Linked DNA regions of Homo sapiens: region 2 is linked to region 1. Evidence: promoter capture Hi-C in 16 types of primary human blood cells and fetal thymus (Javierre and others, 2016). All regions are on one chromosome and are shown on one strand. The core of a region is centred on a gene start or on the middle of the fragment in contact, and the rest is flanking DNA. Distances in the headings are between cores, read along the strand shown. Region 1 holds the start of H2AC1 (H2A clustered histone 1). Region 2 holds the start of SLC17A1 (solute carrier family 17 member 1).

Region 1 (3,979 bases), core at 644-3,143:
CTGAGAAGTTAAGTGCCACTTTCTTGACAAAGTATCTACATTAATTACTTGGAATTCATCTGTTTAGGTTTGTCTTATATCCTGATTTTAAGTTTTACATTTGCCATGTTCTAAATATTACCCAGTTTTATTCAACATATAGTTGCCATTTCTGTTTTCAAATATCTTCAATTTTTGCCGTCCCTAACTGCATCCCTTATTTATTATGTATGCAGGTTAATTCATACTTTTGTAACTTGATTGTCCTTACTCGGCATGTTTTATTTTATAGAACTTTACCTGCTTCTATACATGCCTTATTATGTGTAGACATCAAGTGTTTAGCAGTTTTTTTTTTGGTAACCAAATGATTTTTTTTTTTTTTGAGGTAAGGTCAACTGTTGAATATCGTACAATAATTTTTAATTTAGTTATTTGGCAGCGTTACTGAATGGGTTTTGCTTTTCACTTTCTCTTGGTGTTTACAGCACAAACTGCAAACACAGATCAACAAACTATTTTGCCTCTTTTCAACAGTCAAAACTTTTGAAGCATATACTCTTCCAAATTTCTAAACTTCAAATTATGTTCGGCCTTCTAGTCCCATTCCTGCCTGAGTCTAACACTAGTATCTCACCATCACATATGGCGTAAGGCTTCTTTTTGACATATTTTACTTACATTTTAAGAAATAATTCTATTATTCTTTACAAAGTACGTGAAACCACAGGTATCAAATATATATGCTTACCCAAATTTTAAGATTAACTTACTTACATGCCACATTTAATTATGAGTATTTCGTGAAACTACCATATTTGAAAGGAAATTCTCTAAAATGTACTTTAACCAGCCAGACTGATGTTACCTGGATTTAAACAGGAAGATTACACCTCTCCTGCTTGTAATGCAATTTTCACTTCCATGTGTAACCCTTAACATAACTAACATACATAAATCTAGTTTGAGATAGTCTCGCTCATGTCACCCAGACTGGAGTGCAGTGGAGCAATCAATCTTCGTTCACTGTAACTTTCGCCTCCCGGACTCATGAACAACCCTCCCACCGCAGCCTCCCGAACAGCTGGGACTACAGGCCTGCATCACCAGACCCAGCTAGTTTCTGTGGGGACAGGGTCTCAATTATGTTAACGGTCAAGCCCCAGGCTTGAACGACCCTCCCGCTCCAACCTCCACTGAAGTGCAAGTACTGACTGCTCACAAGCGTTAAGCCACCTCGCCCAGTGACATATATAACCAAAATTACCTCAAACTAATGGCCGATGGAACGCTCCTTGAAAATTCAGTCCCCGTACATTCCCGAAATGCGCTTAAACGGGCATTTGTGACAGGCAAGTAAGATGGCTGGTTAACAGCAGTAACGTTTTGTAACGTACAGCCTTTTTCTGAGACGGTAGGTGGCTCTGAAAAGAGCCTTTTGTTTTTTCTGACACAGAAGTCTTTTTACCAATGACAACCTTAAGTTACTTGCTTTGGGCTTTATGGTGGTGACTCTCAGTCTTCTTGGGCAGCAGCACTGCCTGAATGTTAGGCAGGACTCCGCCCTGGGCAATGGTCACGCCGCCCAAAAGCTTATTGAGTTCCTCATCATTGCGGATCGCTAGCTGCAGGTGGCGGGGAATAATGCGAGTTTTTTTGTTATCGCGAGACGCATTGCCTGCCAGCTCAAGGATTTCTGCTGTGAGATACTCTAACACTGCCGCCAAATACACTGGTGCGCCTGCCCCTATCCGCTCTGCATAGTTTCCCTTACGAAGCAGACGATGGATCCGGCCTACGGGAAACTGCAAACCCGCTCTAGAAGAGCGAGACTTAGACTTGGCGCGTGCTTTTCCTCCCTGCTTCCCTCGTCCAGACATCTCCTCGCATCAAATTGCAGCAACACGAGAACCACATTTCTAGGGCTGCTACTGGGCCTATTTATAGTCTGACTGAGGTTGGCATTTGCTATCTGATTGGCTGATGGCCGTCTACCCAATCAGAAAGTCGTACTAGAATCGCCTCATTTGCATTCACGCCACTTCCCATTGTCCAATCAGATTTTGGATACCGAACGCGGCGTTTGAGGGCCGTGCCTATAAATACCGCATCTTTCATCCTCCAGTTCTGTTTGTTTACTTGGCGAGACTTGGAGCTGAGGTCATTTGGAGCTGTTTAATACTGAAGAGCTGTTGAGCACTGGAAAGTGCTGTGTAACCCTGGAAAAGAACCGTGTAACGCTGCAGAAGTGTGTGGTAGCTATGCCGGAGGTGTCATCTAAAGGTGCTACCATTTCCAAGAAGGGCTTTAAGAAAGCTGTCGTTAAGACCCAGAAAAAGGAAGGCAAAAAGCGCAAGAGGACCCGTAAGGAGAGTTATTCTATTTACATCTACAAAGTGCTAAAGCAGGTCCATCCGGACACTGGCATCTCTTCGAAAGCTATGAGCATTATGAATTCCTTCGTCACTGATATCTTTGAGCGTATAGCGAGCGAGGCATCACGTTTGGCTCACTACAGCAAGCGCTCCACCATTTCTTCCAGAGAGATTCAGACAGCAGTGCGCTTGCTACTGCCGGGAGAGCTGGCTAAACATGCTGTGTCTGAGGGCACCAAGGCTGTCACTAAGTACACCAGCTCCAAGTAAGCCTGCTAAGTAAACGTCATTTCTAACCCAAAGGCTCTTTTCAGAGCCACTTAAACATACTGAAACAGCTGTGGGCTTCGTTTTTGTGTAGTTTCTAACCGTAAGGGTTTTTTTTTTTTTTGAGGCGGAGTCTCACTCTCCCAGGCTGGAGTGCAGTGGCGGAATCTCGGCTCACTGCAAGCTCTGCCTCCTGAGTTCACGCCATTCTCCTGCCTCAGCCTCCTGAGCAGCTGGGACTACAGGCTCCCACCACTACACCCGGCTAATTTTTGTATTTTTAGTAGAGACGGGGTTTCACCATGTTGGCCAGGATGGTCTCAAACTCGATCTGGTGATCACCCACCTCGGTCTCCCAAAGTGCTGGGACTACAGGCGTGAGCCACTGCGAATATATCCAAATCAGCTGTGGGCCGAGGGTAGACGAACTAGTTGCAGCAAGACAATCCTTGCTAGGCACCGTGACTCGCCTGTAATCCCAGCACTTGCAGAGGTCGAGGCTGGCGGTTCATGAGGTTAAGAGACGGAGACCATCTTGGCCAACAAGGTGAAACTCCGTCTCTACTAAAAATACAAAAATCAGGTGGGCGTGGTGGCGTGCACTGTAGTCCCAGCTAATTGGGAGGCTGAGGCAAGAGAATCGCTTGAACCCAGGAGCCGGAGATTGCAGTGAGCCGAGATCGTCACTGCACTACAGCCTGGTGACAGCGAGACTGTCTCAAAAAACAAAACAAAAAAACCCCCTAGTTTGTATAAAAGCTACATGCTGATACTGGTATATTTAAGGTTAGCATTACACATAATAAAACTAAAAAGCGCAGCGACATAGACAGTATAACTTGCATTATGATCCCAAATTTTAAGACCTCACAAAAAGGGAATAGTTTAGAGGAAGTTACGTTTTGTGCCACAGGTAAGTCAAGGTGTGGAAATGATTGTGCGAACTCTGGAGAACTCACAAATCTGGTTAGCAGGAATTAAACGGATTTAAAATGTCCCTTAATTTTCTTAAATTTATAATAGTTTCCTTCATTGTCATGTTACTGGTTGTTGGACTCCATCTGTAAGAGCTCCCAAGCATTAAACTGATTTCAGCCACCTTAAAAATGGATCAAATATTACTTCCTGGAAACCTGTGGTTAGCTGGAATTCTCAATTTGTTTAACGCATCTTCATTTAACCTTTATCTTTTAACAAAATTTTGGATATGTATATGTGCTTTCTCTACATTAAAAAGTTAGTACCGGCCGGCGCGGTGGCTCACGCATGTAATCCTGCACTTTGGGAGGCAGAGGAGGGCAGATCACGAGGTCAGGAGATCGAGACCATCCTGGCTAACATGGTGAAACCCTGTCTCT
Region 2 (3,979 bases), core at 533-3,032, 110 kb after region 1:
ATATTTTCCACTAAATGATAAACTGACAAGTGCGCAAAAATGAAAATAAAGTGTAAGCCACCAGAGTATGTAGAATCTTTTTATTTAGGGCTTTTCTGGTGGAAAACCATAGTAGGACTGGTTTCTTCTACCTTCTTTTCTGAACATTTTTAAGACCCCATATGTATATCACAAAAATATTCTTCCACATGGAATCTGTGATGTAATATTTAAGAAAAAGAACACCTGTTTAATGGAACAGAATAAAGTGCTACCTTTTTTGGGAGGCAACCGGTTATCCATTTGCATACACGGCTGAAGTTGCTTCTCTTCTTGCTGAAGGGTTTTGCCTCCACCCACTGTGAGTGCAAAACACGTTGATGTCAGCATAATGTAGAGAGGCAACTGACCAAACACTACCCAGTACTCCTCTCTGATTTAAAACCGCTTCCAAGGATAACTTGCTCCATCACAGCAGTGCCCATTCACCTCCATTATGTGCTTCCCTTGATATTTATTTTACTTTTGTGATTGTTTTGGTTGATTAAAAATATATGGAAGACCTGAAAACTACAGAGAACAAACAAATAACCCTGCCAATCCAGAATTCTAAATCCGTGATAATATTCCTCCAAAGTGAGAAATGGAAAGAATTCATTGCCAGTAGACCTGCCCTGTAAGGAACACTAAAAGAAGCCTTTCAGGCAGAAGGAGATTGCTATAGGTCAGAAACTCGGCAGTATGAAAAGAAAGGAAGAATGTCAGAAAAGGAGTAAGCAAAGGTAAAACAAATTCCTTTTTTCCCCCTGTATCTTAATAGAGCTGGAAGATACTATCTGCTTATTGATAAGATCAACTCAAGCAGAGGCTAATCATTCGTTACACGTCCACATGCCCCTGTCCGTATCTTCAGTTTCCGTGGATAGAGCAGCCACTGATGCAAAGCTTTATGGCAGGAAGCTCAGTGGAGAATCAGAATGGAGCAGTCTCCTATCAGGCAACCCCTTACCATCAGAATTCAGCACCAATATGTGCTGGTCAGGTTAGACCTCAGGATTTTACCATATCAGATTATATGATACCTAGTGCCCCAAAGATACCAAAGTCCTGAGATTGGATTTGCAAAATATTTTTGAATAAGCAATTTGTCAACCATCATTATCACACATTGGAACCTCTTCTGGGGCTGCTGTTTATTTCAATACATATATACATACACACCAAATGCACACACAAACCACCCATACGTATGCACCACATACATACATACAACATAAACACATGGTACAAACTCCCCTTATGTTCTCCACACATACACTCCAGACACATAGCAAACCAAACATATAAATACGTTACAATACTGCATCCTCAAAACGGAAGTACAAACTACAAACACCACACACATAACCACACACACACATAAATGATGGGCACAGATGCACCAGGCGTACACAGTGTGCCACACACATTACAGACACAGCACACCACAGCTATACAAGCATCACACACTGTACAACACATACTTCTCTTTCCTTGTGTCCCTGTGAACCTCACACTGATTGCTAAAAATATGTTCTTTTTTCTCTTGTGAAAAGCCTCAGAAGATAGGGCATATTCCACCCCTCCCCACATTTTCCCCTATTGCTAAGTACTTTCAATAATATCTTTGCCAGGGAATGCCCCCTTACGGCCCTCTGGGGAATCAACTGATTGCTCATTTCATTTAATGAGCCCCGTAGACTAACCTGATTCGGGACAAAAAAGTGATTTCTTCTTCCGCTGTGAAGACTTTTCTCTCAACTTTACACAATATTGACTTTCTAGGATTACCAAGTTTAGCCCCATAAATCATTCACCAAATCTTTTGACATCACTGTGTCGAAGTTAAAAGCTTAATTTTTAACTTTACTGTTACCTTTTCCTTAAAGCTTCAGGGAAGGTGTGTGGGTCAAAATCATCCAGTGGACCAGAAACTGGGAATCTGCCAGTAATTTCATGGCATAATAAGCAGACACCCTTAGTCTCTCTCCCTGCCCAGGAGGTAGAGCTTGCCTGCCATAAGTGCTCTCAAGATTTCTCTATTAAGGATGGCTCTGAGTATACAATGCTGTTCTCACAGGAATGTTGTGGCTTTCTAAATGCCCCATAAATGCCATATTAAATTTTTACTCTTAATTCCCTTCCTTCCTTTCTTCCTCCTTTTCTTCCTTTTTTCTTTCTTTCTTCCTTCTCTTTCCCTTCTTCCTTCTCCCTCCTTCCTTGCTTTCCCTCCTTCCCTCACCCTGTCTCCTCCACACTCCTCTCTAAACAGTACATCTGTTTGACATTCAGCATACTCAGAAAGAGGTACATTTTATTGAGGCATGTCCTCTGGAAGGTGTGGCTTCTCTCATGGCTCTTCCTGCAATTACTGTAGGTTCTGGTTCATCCACTTGGTTATAGCAATATCCAGAAACATTAAAAAAAAAACATAGAGAGACAGGATCTCACACTGTCACCCAGGCTGGAGTGCTATGGTGCAATTATAGCTCAGTGCAGACTTGAACTCCTGAGCTCAAGGGATCCTTCCACTTCAGCCCCAAGTAGCTGGGATTACAGGTATGCAACACTGTACCCAGCTAATTGGTAGAGACAGGGTCTTGCTGTGTTGCCCAGGTTGATATCAAACTTCCTGCCACAAGCAATCCTTGTGCCTTGGCCTCCCAAGTGTTGGAATGACAGGCGTGAGCCGTCGTGCCTGGCCCCTAATACTTTTAACTTAGAACTCTTTGAAGGTAATCTACTAATTACTTAAAAATATCCAAGCACTAAAATCAGTGATTTTGCATTATAGGTAATTTATTTCATGCTTAACAAGTTTTTTTTTAATTTTTATCATGCTTTTAAAGTGCTCATTAAATGTTTGGCACATAGCAGATGCTCTGTAAATTCAACCAGTTATTTTTTTCCTCTAAAGAAATGTTGTAAATCTTTAACCCCTTTGCCCAGGAGACTTTGATGTTGTTATTCAGTTAGATTTTTTCTTTTTCAAAAGTCCAGATTCTGCTGGTCCTCTTCTGTGTGTTGCAGAATGTTTGTACTGTCCTGTTTCATGCTGGGCAATTTCTGGCATTTTCTGAAAGAGGAGCCCTTTTAGTGATTGAAACCCCTAGGTCAGCAGTTGTTCAAAGTCCATGTGTTAAATAATAACACTCCCATCTGCCATCAGTATCCCAGTTCTGGATACTGATTACCTGAAGGAGAACCATCTTTCTGTTTGCTGGCCCCAAAGCTTTCTGCTGCTCTGTGAGATTCTTTGAAATTGTTTCTTTTGGATTCTGTGTTTTATGTATTAAATTTTTAAATTTATCATTTTATTATGGAAATGTTTAAGCATACAAAAAAGTAGATCAGTTTAAGATAACTGTGTACATATTCACCCACTTCAATAATTATCAATATTTGGCCATTTGAGTTTTCATTTGGCCTTTTGAATGTTATCAACAACATTCAATGGTTGTTTTTTGTAGCATTTTAAAGCAGATCTCAGACATTATGTCATTTCTTCTATAAAACATTCAGCATGGCTATCTAATTCATTAGGACCTTAAAAGATATAACTAACATGGTATCAGCACATCTAGTAAATAAACAATAATCCCTTAACATCACCTAATATCCAACCTTTATGACAATTTTCCCAATTGCTTCAAAATTGTGTCCTTTATATTTGCTTGATTTAAGTGAGGATTTGAATAGGATCCACATAATGGCGCTTAATTGTTACGGCTGTCATGTCTCTTATTTTATAATAATCCCCTCTCCCAGTTTACATTTGCCATTACTTAAAAACAACAACAATAAAACAGGATCCCTTGCAGAGTGTCTCTCCTAATTGGTTTGGCTAATAGCTCGCTTTTAGGATTATTTGATATATTTTTGTATTTCCTTACATCCTGCAAACCGTGAGGTTTATATAGAGGCTTGGTTAGATTCAGCACAAAAACAATTCACAGGGATA

What was found. The method cuts DNA at HindIII sites, captures the fragments that hold promoters and counts their contacts. A CHiCAGO score of 5 or more calls a contact.
Region 2: the fragment with the promoter of SLC17A1 here is called in contact with the fragment with the promoter of H2AC1 in region 1 in 3 of 17 cell types (naive CD4 T cells, total CD8 T cells and M0 macrophages); the score reaches 5.3 in naive CD4 T cells.

Annotation. Positions count from the first base shown.
Region 1 is chr6:25,724,669-25,728,647 of GRCh38, forward strand. H2AC1 (H2A clustered histone 1) reads right to left here and starts at 1,894. Exons shown (of 1, transcript NM_170745.3): 1 at 1,395-1,894. The coding sequence starts at 1,859. The coding sequence ends at 1,464. H2BC1 (H2B clustered histone 1) reads left to right here and starts at 2,109. Exons shown (of 1, transcript NM_170610.3): 1 at 2,109-2,677. The coding sequence starts at 2,241. The coding sequence ends at 2,624. It also overlaps a transcript of SLC17A1 not described here. The HindIII fragment of the contact is 12,318 bases long and covers 1,570-3,979 here.
Region 2 is chr6:25,830,270-25,834,248 of GRCh38, forward strand. It overlaps SLC17A1 (solute carrier family 17 member 1), which reads right to left and starts at 1,783. Exons shown (of 13, transcript NM_005074.5): 1 at 1,725-1,783; 2 at 255-338. The coding sequence starts at 288. The HindIII fragment of the contact is 946 bases long and covers 923-1,868 here.